Regions from separate parts of the Homo sapiens genome. Here all the other regions are linked to region 1. Evidence: promoter capture Hi-C in 16 types of primary human blood cells and fetal thymus (Javierre and others, 2016). All regions are on one chromosome and are shown on one strand. The core of a region is centred on a gene start or on the middle of the fragment in contact, and the rest is flanking DNA. Distances in the headings are between cores, read along the strand shown. Region 1 holds the start of ANO9 (anoctamin 9). Region 2 overlaps RIC8A (RIC8 guanine nucleotide exchange factor A). Region 3 overlaps PSMD13 (proteasome 26S subunit, non-ATPase 13). Region 4 has its middle 3.0 kb from the start of IFITM1.

Evidence for each region. Contacts are between HindIII fragments. The CHiCAGO score rates a contact against its expected background, and 5 or more counts as called.
Region 2: a fragment that was not itself captured here is called in contact with the fragment with the promoter of ANO9 in region 1 in 1 of 17 cell types (naive CD4 T cells); the score reaches 5.2 in naive CD4 T cells.
Region 3: a fragment that was not itself captured here is called in contact with the fragment with the promoter of ANO9 in region 1 in 4 of 17 cell types (total CD8 T cells, naive CD4 T cells, total CD4 T cells and 1 more); the score reaches 10.8 in total CD8 T cells.
Region 4: a contact is called between a fragment that was not itself captured here and the fragment with the promoter of ANO9 in region 1, in 1 of 17 cell types (total CD8 T cells). The highest score is 5.5, in total CD8 T cells.

What each region holds. Positions count from the first base shown.
Region 1 is chr11:440,595-443,539 of GRCh38, reverse strand. ANO9 (anoctamin 9) reads left to right here and starts at 1,529. Exons shown (of 23, transcript NM_001012302.3): 1 at 1,529-1,619. The coding sequence starts at 1,614. It overlaps LOC105376506 (a long non-coding RNA gene), which reads right to left. Exons shown (of 5, transcript XR_007062542.1): 5 at 2,867-2,945. It also overlaps the pseudogene RN7SL838P. RefSeq lists enhancers at 131-928, 1,236-1,505 and silencers at 1,337-1,631, 1,676-1,755. The HindIII fragment of the contact is 10,543 bases long and covers 1-2,945 here.
Region 2 is chr11:210,446-213,390 of GRCh38, reverse strand. It overlaps RIC8A (RIC8 guanine nucleotide exchange factor A), which reads right to left. Exons shown (of 10, transcript NM_001286134.2): 4 at 2,729-2,820; 5 at 2,042-2,192; 6 at 880-975; 7 at 632-776; 8 at 410-554; 9 at 1-92. Among named protein-coding and RNA genes, the nearest start is that of MIR6743, 2.6 kb to the right of the region's middle. The HindIII fragment of the contact is 373 bases long and covers 1,300-1,672 here.
Region 3 is chr11:249,264-252,208 of GRCh38, reverse strand. PSMD13 (proteasome 26S subunit, non-ATPase 13) reads right to left here. Exons shown (of 13, transcript NM_002817.4): 10 at 1,344-1,406; 11 at 583-663; 12 at 273-389. Among named protein-coding and RNA genes, the nearest start is that of PSMD13, 14 kb to the right of the region's middle. The HindIII fragment of the contact is 841 bases long and covers 992-1,832 here.
Region 4 is chr11:309,628-312,384 of GRCh38, reverse strand. No RefSeq gene overlaps it. Among named protein-coding and RNA genes, the nearest start is that of IFITM1, 3.0 kb to the left of the region's middle. RefSeq lists an enhancer at 230-835. The HindIII fragment of the contact is 2,344 bases long and covers 79-2,422 here.

The DNA.
Region 1 (2,945 bases), core at 280-2,779:
GTTTTAAAGACAGAGTCTTACTCTGTCACCCAGGCTGGAGTGCAGTGGTGTGATCTTGGCTCACTGCAACCTCTGCCTCCCAGGTTCAAGCGATTCTCCTGCCTCAGCCTCCCGAGTAGCTGGGATTACAGGCGTGCACCACCATACCTGGCTAATTTTTGTATTTTTAGTAGAGACGGGGTCTCACCATGTTGGGCAAGCTGGTCTCGAACTCCTGACCTCAGGTGATCCACCCGCCTCGGCCTGCCAAAGCGCCGGGATTACAGGCATGAGCCACTGCGCCCGGCCAACTCCAGATTTCACTTATAGGAGAAATACACAGCTTGTTTAAGCCACCACCATTTTGCACACAGATCTGAATGTGTTCCATTTGGATTTGCCCCATCTGAGCTCACAGGTCCTCGGCCACCACTTCACTCGCTTGTCTTTGCCAAAGTGGCAAAGCTGTGGTCTCTGCTGCCATCCCAGCCTGCCAGGAGGTCCCCCAAGGAGAAACATGGGTGGGACCATGTTACCCCTTGGGGAAACCAGAGCCGACTGTTGGCCCTGGGCCTGGACCACAGCAGAGGGCTGCTGGGCTTGCCGGGGGGTGCTCTGGCCCCAGTGGGCCTGGAGCCGTTCCGTGTGACAGCGTCTGCCTGCGGAGCTCTGGCCCTGCCTCCCCAGCTTTGCAGCAGCTTTCAGAAGCAGACTCCTCGCCACACACGCTGCAGATAATGTGTGCCAGCCCACGGCCTGGGCCCCCACTCCCCGCAGCCCTTCCCTCCTCAGGGCACTCCACTGGACGGTCACTCTCAGGACACCCAGAGCCTGCCCAGCTGCCGCCCTCAGCCCAGGCTGCACAGAACGTGCTCAGGGACTGGGGATGCGGGGTGGAGGGCTCCTCCTCCGTTGTCTACACAGCCTGGGGCCAGCCACGTGTCCCCAGGACTCCAAGGATTCCCCAGTGGGGCCCAGAAAGCAGGGGCTTGGGTAGGAGCAGACAGTTTCTTTGGGAGTCTGTCTCGTCGTCAGTCCTCCTTGCCCCAGTTTCTCCTCTAAGGGAATCAGCACTGGACCTGTGGGGTGGGGGGCCGTGGCCCGGGGTGGGGGGCCGTGGCCCGGGGTGGGGGAGGCCGTGGCCCGGGGTGGGGGAGGCCGTGGCCCGGGGTGGGGGGCCGTGGCCCGGGGTGGGGGGCATGGCCTGGGGTGGGATGCTTTTGGAGGGAACATGGGGATGTGTGAGCGGGGGTGAGAGAGGCAAGGCAAGTGGGGGCGTTGGTGCTGGCTCTGTCAGGGGCTCTGTGCCATCCTGCTTCCCCCTAGGACCAGGTGTCATGAGACCCATCTCACAGTGGAAACCCCCTTCCCGGGAACTCCAGCCTAGGAATTCCCCTCTGGCCCCTGACCCGCCATCTGGGCTCCAGGAAGGTGTCCCAGGCTCCAGGGGCTGGGGTACTCTCCTGGCCTGGATGCTGGCTCCGCCCCGACTACACCCAGGCGCGGCAGCTGCAGGACGCTGGAGGAGGAGGAGGGAGGGGCGAGCCCCACGCGGAAGTCAGGTAGGAGCACCCGCCGCTGGCAGCCACTCTCCTGGCCGCCAAACCCCAGCTGGAACTCCGGCCACAGCCAGCATGCAGGTGAGTCCTGCGCTCAAAAGGGTCCACACCTTCAAGGCCCCCAGCCACGCCCACACCTGGGGCCCCCGGCCCCAGCCCCCCGCCAGCCCCACCTGGAAGGCGCCTGTGTGTGTGGGGGGGGTCCCTGCAGGCTGCCCGGTCAGGCGAGGGTGACCGCCCGGCTCAGCTAAGCTGCCTCCTGGACTCCTGGGGCACGCTGGGGGTTGGAAGTGCTGGAGGCGGGCGGCGTTCCTCCCTCCAGCCCGGGATTCTGAGGGCACCAGGGCTGGGCTCTCAGCTAGTGTGTGGGGCCAGGAACCTCTACCAGAGTCCTGAACACGAGATGGAGAGGGCCTGCCCACCGAGGCGGGGGCTGCTGCTGAGGACCCCAGACCTGGCAGCTTTGCCTTGCAGCTGGCCCCTAAGGGGGAGCGGGCTGTGGGCACCAGGCAGGCTGCCCCAGGGTTGGGAGCTGCAGAGTGGCCGGCGGGCTGTGGGCTCTCTGCTCCCCAAGGACCCCGCCCAGCACAGGTGGGGGCCGACTGCTGCTGCTGGATTCCGATTCTGGGGGTGGGCGCTGACTGCTGCTGCTGGATTCCGATTCTGGGGGAGGGAGTGCAGGTGAACACGTAGAAAGACATCCTTTCTCCCCTCTGCCAGTGAAGAGGTCACCTGGGGCCAGGGCCAACACCTGGGCAGGTCAGCACCTGGTCGGCCCAGGGAGGAGGCAGTGGTGAGGTGTGGAGTGAAACCAGCCTCCCTCTCGGCCTGCCAGGGCCTCCACGTGTGGGCTGCGCCGGCGGCCTCTTGCTCCATCTCCGCCCAGGGCTCTCCTCGGCCCTCCACATCCAGGTCTGACACCCTGGCTGCTCAGCCCAGCACCTGATGCCCCTTAGCCTGAGCTCAGGGTCCCCTCTGCCAGCCCCTTCCTCCCATGCTGGGGGTTAGAGGAGAGACTTGGGGCTGGCCAGGGGTTGGGTTGGGAGAAGCAGCACCTGGTTTGTTGGAAGTGAGAGCATCAGTCCTTCAAAAAAGACAGTTGCAGCCGGGCCTGGTGGCGCATGCCTGTGGTCCCGGCTACTCCGGAAGCTGAGGCAAGAGGATTGCTTGAACCCGGGCGTCGTGGCATGCACCTGCAGTCTCAGCTACTCAGGAGGCTGAGGCAGGAGGACTGCTCGAACCCGGGCGTGGTGGCGCGTGCCTGCGCTCCCAGCTACTCGGGAGGCTGAGGCAGGAGGACTGCTGGAACCCGGGCGTGGTGGCATGAGCCTGCGGTCCCAGCTACTCCGGAGGCTGAGGCAGGAGGGTTGCTCGAGCCTGGGAGTTCTGGGCTGTAGTGTGTTAGGC
Region 2 (2,945 bases), core at 237-2,736, 230 kb after region 1:
GCTTCATGGCCTCGTGCTCCTTCTGCTCCTCTGTCATGCCCTCCATAGGGTTAGGCGGCTTCTCCTCCACCCTCCCGGTCACAGGGTTTATGCTGTTTCCCAGTGGGTGGAATGTGGGGAATGCATTAGTGACTCTCCAGGACAGGAGGCAAGCCACCTATTTTCCCAGTGGGGTGAGGTGGGCAAGGCAACTGCAGGAAGAGGCCTCCCTCCAGAAGCGGCACAGGTAACCAGCTCCTGCCATCTGCCACCTTCTGGTATCCCAGATAGCACTTAGGAACAGGTGCTTGATTCTGGAAGCTCTTGCCCATTTGTCATCCTGTCCCACCCTACAGGGGTCCACATGGGTGTGGAAGCAGGGACTATGGGGCTGTGAGTGGAGACCCGAGGGTGTGTTGGGGGTACACACCTGGCTTTGGCTTCCTTGTACTCATCTGTGTCTGTGTCCTCATCCTCTGAGTACTGGCCCTCGGGCCGGCCTCCTGCCATGAGGCCCCTGGCAGCCAGAAGGCCAGCAGCATTCCCATAGCCTGTGTACTTGATGAATCGGGGCACTGAGGGGCAAGGCAGAGGTCAGTGTGCAAGCCTGGCTGAGGTGGGGTGGGCTGGGACCTGGGTCTCCATAACTCACCACTCTCAGAGCACAGGACAAACAAGAACTCGGCAGCCACCCTCTTCACATCTGTGTCCAGGTGTGTCATGAGGCGGACAAGCTTGTTCCGCAGCATCTCCCCAACCTCAGGCCGTGTCCTCACATCCCGCAGAGGGGGCAGCACCTGGGGAGGTGGCCATCCCTAAGCTTGGGCTTAGAGCAGCCAAGGGTCTGTGATCAGGGCCGAAACCACATCCCCCAGGAGCACCAGCTCCTCAGCCTTATACCTGGGCCTTCAGGAACTTCCTGGCTGGGCGGTGCATCCGGGCACATTCAGTCAGCACGCTCAGCACGGGAGCTACACTCTCCTTCAGCCTGTGTGTCTGTAGAGGATTCTCTGTCACTGGGGCTATGCCCCTGCCTAACTTGTGACTGGCACAGAGTTACACCTCCCCACCACCCCTTCCCACCAACATACACAACAGCTGGTCCTGGCGGCAGAGGTTTGGGAAGAGGCCCCTCTGCAGTTAGTCAGCAGAAGGCCAAGAGTGGGTGGTGGGTGTCTGTGTCACTTTTGAAAAGGACAGGGATAGAGCGTAACTCAGAGGTACTCGTAAGCTTTGTGACTTGGGAGAAATAACTGCTTTAAGTCTAATTACTTCAACTATAAACCAGAGCTGGGAAGAAAACACAAAGCAATTAAAGCTTTAGACTCGCACACACATTGCCCTCAGATGTTGGTGGCAAAAAGAAACGAGAACCGAATCCCCGCTCTGTGTACTTCGTGGACAGAGCAGGGAGTTCTTGACCCTCCTAGCATAATGTGCCTGGACCCCAGCACCAGCAGTGGCAGCGACGGGCACAGACAACCCCCTAGCTGTGTGTCCAGTGCCAGCTCCCTATCCTGACTGGCTCGCAGGCACCTTGTGTGTCCCTTGCTTAGGCAGGTAGATTCCCAGGAGGTCTACTAAATCTCGGTTTATTGTACTCCAGCCTGCTTTCTGCAAGCTCCTGGAAGATGGTTAGAGCCCCAGCTGTCCAGATGCCCTGTAGTGCAGTCACAGCAATCAGAAGGAAGCTTTGATCTGAGGTTCCTATGGGTCTCCTCAGGATGCTGAGGGACAACTATGCTTGTAATCAAGGGCTGCCTGTGTTTAAGACTTAAAAGTAGGGACTGGGGGGCTTCTCTGGACCACTCAGTAAAGATCCCCAAAGATTTAAGAAGTGAAACCTTCAAGTGTGTGGAAGGTGTCCACATGCTTCTCATGGAGGAAGGGTCTGGCTTCTTGCCAGGCTGGACCACAGAACAACCGGAAGAGTCGCCCATATCACACCACCAAGACAATCTCCACGTACCAGTGTGGACAGTGTGGAAGCACTGACCACATCTGTGCAGGAGAACCAGTGCCAGAGCCACTGGGGGAGCCTGCACAGCCATCCCCAGCCTACCTTGTGCAAACGCTTCTCTAGGAAGATGAGGAGGGCACGAATCACATCCATATTCACTCCCATGAACTCCGTGGAGTCTCCATGTGGCTCCAGGGTGAGGAGAACATCCAGACACTTGAGGGGCAAGTTCCCCAGGAGGTTCACTGCGTGGCTGGGGACAGATGGAGGTAGGGGTTTCAACAGGGCTAATCCCTGAGCACAGGTGCAATCTTTGTGACTCCGCTGAACCACACATTACATGAGCTGGCATCTGAGTCCCAAAGGGGCAGCGCTAGGGACCAAAGCCAAGGGCAGGGACTGATCTGAGAGGCACTGCCACTCAGCTGTACAGTGGGGTCCCCTGGGGAAGTGGGGGCACTGAGACACACTGCCTCCCCGACCCTGTCTGAGCCAAAGCGCCAGACCATCTCTGGAAACCCAGACCAGCCTAGGGGCAGGTAGACCAAAAACGGGGACAAGGAACCAATGTGCCCTAGTAAGTACCATACTGTTGCCACTACCCAAGGCCCAGTTGGCACATTCCTGCCCCCAAATTCATGGCTATGTCCAGTCTCACTCACCCAGACAACGTCAGACTCTCTAGGGTGGGGCCTGGGCTCTCAGGTGGTTCTGGTTCAGAGCCGGGGTTGAGGACGACCATCTAGACATGTGGGCACACTTCCCTCCCAGAAAAAGCCCCATTCTCACCCGTGGAACTCCTCTGTGCGGTCTCCAGCAGTAGCGATCATCACACAGTGCCGGAGAAGGGTCCCCAGGTGTCGGTAAAGGGCAGCGTCTTCCTGACCAAAGAAAGAAGGGTTCCTGTGAGGAGCCCCACTCATCCCACTGCTGCCTGCTGAGGCTCCACTGTCTGTTGCACTCCAGGACTGTGTGGCAATGACTGTGCACCTCCTGTACTGCATAC
Region 3 (2,945 bases), core at 163-2,662, 190 kb after region 1:
GTATCTGATCAGAGCTCCTATCTTAAGATTAAAAGGCACCGTCAGCACAACCAGTGCCATTGTCATCATAAGCTTTTAAATGCAGGGTTCAAACCCTAGGCTTGCATTAAATTAGGCTCTTAGAAAAACCCAACAGCAGTATTTCCTTCTCCAAAACCTCTTGTCTAATAATGCTGTCTTCCCAAATGGCTTCCATCCAAATGAAACTAAGACGGTATAGACACAACCCCTCAAAATCCACAGAGGTGAATAATGGGTTTCAAACACATCACCTGTTGCAAATCCAACACTCGGGGCTGCACCCAGGTCATGTGGACTCGTTTGTCCACCTCGTCTATACTGCCTTTCACCAGCCCCACCGAAAGGGCCTTCATCACCAGAAGCTCCACCTGTGCAGAGAGGGAGGCGTGTGTAAGACAAGATAGCCTGACACACCCCCATGGACCCAGATGGCTTGTGAGAAGCAGATGCCGCTCCTCCCGTCATTTTTTACTGTCTAGGGAGCACAGCGCTCACACAAGAGCCTTGACTCCTCCATGTGGCAGCTTTGCTGCTCTAACACCCTGAGCCTAGGGACCGTACCTCATTCACTGTGATTTTAGCACTTTTGGCAATTTCTTCAAAAGTGAGTTGTCTGTGATTGGCAGGTCGTGTGAAAGTCATCTGGAAAAAATTTTATTAACTATTTTAAACTATTTTTCCAAATAAAAATAGAGAACTGATAAGGATGTTTTGTCAATATTGGCTCTGAAAATAGAGATCTTATTAGTACCCCACATACTAAAAAGTTTCCTAATATTAGACATATATCTTGTTAAGAACAAGCTTTTAATGCTTAGATAAGAAGGATAACAGCAAAATGCCTTACAGGAGTTTCTGACAGTAGCCATTGTTCAATCCCCGAACAAGTACTTGAGGCCACAATTTGCCAGGGTTGACCAGGGGTGACCACGGCAAACCAGAAATCTAAGGGCCACTTCCTGACGAAGCTTAAGTTCTAGTGGGGAAAGACAGATGTGCGTGTACACAAGAAGCGACATGCAATGAGGCAACAACTGCATCACGGGGAGAGGGGCAGCTACTTCATCTCAGTTCAGATGGTCAGGGAAGGCCTCAGGGTGGTGGCAGTGGGGTGGGAGGGTGTCGTCTGAGCTAAGAGCCAAATATAAACTTAGAAGAGCAAGTGGTAGCAAAGGAAAAGGAAGGTGGTGAAGAGAGCGGCGCACAGCAGAAGCAGCACCACTGAAAGCTCACACTGCTCAGCACAGGCTTGGAGAGTGCAGCGCCCCCACCTGACCAAAATCTGAAACCACAGACAAAGTGGCTCCTGGGTGTTCGCTTACCTCCATGAGGCACAACAACTGAATTTTCCTCAGAAGCTGGGCTTCATTAGCTGCTAAATCAGGCTGTAAAGTATAGAAAGACAGAAAAATGTCTTCCATGTTTGTGCTTATCAGTTACTTAACTGGGGATCTGGAATTCGTTCTATAACAGTAGACCCAACAAAAACCAGCTAAGCAGATCCAAACATTTCACATTGCAGACTGCTGAAGCTCATTAACAACAAGTGATCTGAGCTTCATTCTTCTTAGGAAATGGAAAGAGTCGCACCTAACTGGGACACTTTGTCAAGGCAAGGAATTTACAAGGTAAGATTTGTATTAATGCTACAGACACCATTAGGCAGGGCCACAGGGTACGGGCATTTCGAGAAGACTCTCCTGGTCAAGGTGCTGTTGGGAAGGATACACCCTACTGCCCAGGGGGGTTCTTTCAAGGGCTGCTGCCGGCTCAGTGAGCCAGTGCAAGTGGAGCCCCTCTGAGGAAAAGCTTCCTTAAGTTCTAGAGACTTGTTCTGAATCAAAAGAGCAAGTTATTAATTTATAATGAAAAATATCATTGTCCTGAGAACTAGAATATACGCTTCTGCAAGATATGCATCATCTCTTCTTATGGATCAAAACGTTACCTGTGAGCACAGAATTAAACCAAGGAGACTTGTTGTTTTAATTCAAATAGCAACTCATATCCTGACACAGGTAGCCCCGATGGGGACATTTCTGCCACAAGTACTGGACAGGTCAAGCTCTGTAAAGGGCTCACTACCCCTCCAGACAGGCTTTGCTGCCTGAATAGATGCTGCCAACATGCATCTACGATTTTTTTTTTTTCTTTAAATTGCTATAACTAGCCATCTTCCTTTCTGAGTGTCACCTTTTTTTGAGATATCAATAAATAATCAGACCACAGTTAGGTCTGGCTGCATCTGTGCTTTCTGCCTCTTCACAGTGCCTTCATCTATATCTACCCTGCTCCACTATGCATGAATTTTACAAGTTTATTTTAAACTGAGAAAATTGAAAGTTTCAGAAAAATACAAAAATAACCATAATTCCTACCACAGTTAACATTTTATTAATATTTACTTCTAATAATCTCATTAAAAAAGAACATACTTATCATTAAAGCTCAAGCCCTTGTTGAGCACCTTTCCCTAACTCCCACCTTCCAGAGACAACTTCACCCAGTGCCTGCCCTCCCCTTGCACTGAGGTGAATTGGCTGTTCTCCCTGCATGGACCTCTCCCTCTCCCCGCACCCGCCGCTCTCCCCCTCCCCGCACCCGCCGCTCTCCCCCTCCCCGCACCCGCCGCTCTCCCCCTCCCTGCACCCACCGCTCTCCCATTCTCTTCACCAGGCATTTGTTCCTCCTTCATCCCATGCTCTCTCCCACCCACTCATGTTAGCCTCACACATCCCTCTTTCAGTTCAGCAAAGATACTAAACTTTTCCGTTTTCTCCGCTGAGTGCACTCTTCCCGTACCTCTTCACTCATTCCTAAGGTCACACAGACCTTAGGTCACTATGACTTCTACATCTTCTGTGACACCCCCTCCACCCAGCGTAGATGCAGGGCCCACATTCGATTCTGTTTTCTCAGAACAC
Region 4 (2,757 bases), core at 1-2,500, 130 kb after region 1:
TGACCTCCTATCAAAGGCCACACATCACTGCGGAGTGGGGTGGGGCTTGAATTTCCCGTGGAAGGTATTTTGGAAGCTTCTTTAAATCACGGGCAGTTTAGGAAGGAAGAAACTGCAGGGCACAAGAGGGAGACAGGATTCTGAGGGGCAGGCATGGAACTGAAACCACCTTTGCAAAAGTCATAACTGAGAATATGATGACAGTGAAGGAGGTCTGACCCTAACCCACTCCGCCTGGCTTCTAACCTCCAAGCTGCCCTTGCTCATCCCTGGGCTTAGCCTAAACTAATCTGGAGAGAAACAGTTTATAGATCAAGGCTGAACAAGCCCCCTTCCTACCTGAGGACCAGACTGCCTTTGCAGGACTAACAAATTAGCCACAAGATTAGAAATTATGGTTTAGGAGTCACGCGGCTGGAGGATGCAAGATTCTGACCCCGCCACCCCTAAATTGCTCCCGGGGATCACAGCACTACTGTAGAACCTAGGATCAGAGTTTGAGATACTTTACAGACCCTGTACTCAATGGATCAGCTGGCACCACCTAAATCCACAATCTTGCTCATGTGGTCCTGTGGCCCCCACCGAGGAGCTGGGTTAGGGTTGGGAAGACAGCTTCGACTCCCCAAGACTTCATCTCCAACCGGACCGGTCAGCGCTCCTGACTCACTGGCCGCCTACCCACCATATCATCCTTCGAAACTCGGATCCCCACGTTTTTGGGGAGAAGGATTTGAGTAATAATAAAACTCCCGTCTCCCCCGCAGCCGGCTCTGCGTGAATTACACTTTCCTTATTGCGATTCCCCTGCCCCGATGCGACCAAGGGGCCCGCCCAGGAGCGCAGAGAATCCATTAAGGGGTCACAGGACCGGGCTCCCAGGGTGACTCCCTGGCCACCAAGTCCTCCAGCAGGTCACTCCTGGATTCCGGCTGGACCCCCTGCCCAGGGAGGGGCCCAGGAGACGCGGAAATCGGGTCCCCCGCGGGTGAAGGGGAGGTGGGAGCCCCAGAGGAGGGCGGGAAGGCTCGGCCGGGGACGTGCCCGAGGGGGAGGAGAGGGGCTCCCGTCCGGGTCCGGCGCTGCGGGTCTCAGGGTCCGCGTCCCGCCCACCCCGCGGGGGTCTGGGCTGCGGGCGGAGCCTCCTCCGGGACCTGCACCTGCGCCGGCCGCCGCCAGGGGCGCCGCTGAGCACCCGCCTCCGCCGCTTCCCCCTCCCCGCCGGGCGGGGCCGCGCGCCTCCCACCCGGGACCCACTTCGGAGTTCGCCCCCTTCGGGACTCGCCTCCGGGAGACCCCCGAGGGGGAGAGGGCGCTTCCTCCGCGTCCATCGCCCTTGCCGCCCCTGGGGTGAGAGCGCGGCTCCGGGGCTGGGGGCGGGAAAGGGTGGGGAGGGCGAGTAGATCCAGACCTGGAGTCGCGGGTGGACGGCGGGGCGGGGGCGCGCATGGCCACCCCAGCTCCCACCGCGGCCGCCCATGGGGCACCCCACATGCGCACACCGGAGACCGAACCGGGGAAGGGCGCTGTAACCAGGTCGGGGCGGGGGTGTCTGTCCGGGGGCTCAGACCCGGGTAGAGGTAACTTAGATGAGGGTCGCTCCACTCTCCTGCGCCGCCCCCACCACGGGGGAGCAGGGCCCATACCCGCTGGACGGGAGGGGGCAGCTGCCACGAAGCAGCACCTGGTCACCCAGGAGGGGCTGCGAGGCCCGGGGCTCCTTCAGCTGCTGCCCTGGGCACAAAGCCCCCTCCCTCCCACGGGCCCTGAGCTGCCCACATCTGCAGGACTGGCTGCTCCAGACAGCTCGGAGGCAGGCAGCGCGGTGCCCCCTCCACCCCCGAGGAACTAAAGCCAGGTCCCCAGCACCACAGAGCAGGGCCTGGGAGCAGCTGGGGAGCCGGTGCCACCTTGCCCCTCCCTGGCCCTGCTGGGGGCTTAACCCTTCCCTCTGTCCTGAGCCGACAGCCTGGATTGCCGACAGGCCGCGAGCGTGGCCTTGGGCCCAGGGTGTCCCGGACTCAGCACTGACGTTCCCGGAAAGAGCCCACGTTGAGTAGGAGCTGAGACCTGCAGGACACAGGAACTCCTCCCAGGGTCCTGGATCCAGCTGCTGCTCACGGCAGGAGGCCCGAAACCAGAAGGCCTGAGCACTTGCCCCGTCCCCAAGAGATGCACAGAGGCTGGAAGGGGCAGTGCAGGGGCTGACCAACCTGCTCATGAAAGGAGGGTCCAGCTGGGCTTCCTGGGTCGAGTAGGGGTTCAGAAAGCTGTGAAACACTCATTTCCTGCATCAGGACTTACTTCGGTCCTGGATGAAGAGTACTGAAGATACATGCCTAAAATATTCCTAACACCAGGATTTGTGCATGTGTTTCCTTCCCCAAGAAAGCTATAAACAGCAAAAATTCTGCTGTAAGCTTCCCTGTGTCCTCTCTCCCTCTCTTCCTTCCCCCTCCCCTAAAACTAAAAGGAATGTTAAAAGACCCTTTTTCTGTGACCAGCGGACCTTATCTATGCTCCCAATTCCAATTCCTTGTGAACATACTTTGTAAAGTCCTGTAAAATCCTGTCTCTTTTGCCATGCTGCTGCAAGGTCATAAAGTAGATAAAATTAGATAAAACCTAAGTTGCAATTCTGTTTTTCCTCAAAATCTAAGACATGTCACAAAATAATTTACTGCCTTTGTTTCTCTCTCTGGTAACATCTTCCCACCACATGTATTTCCCGCCTTAAAGAGATTAAAAGGCAATCAC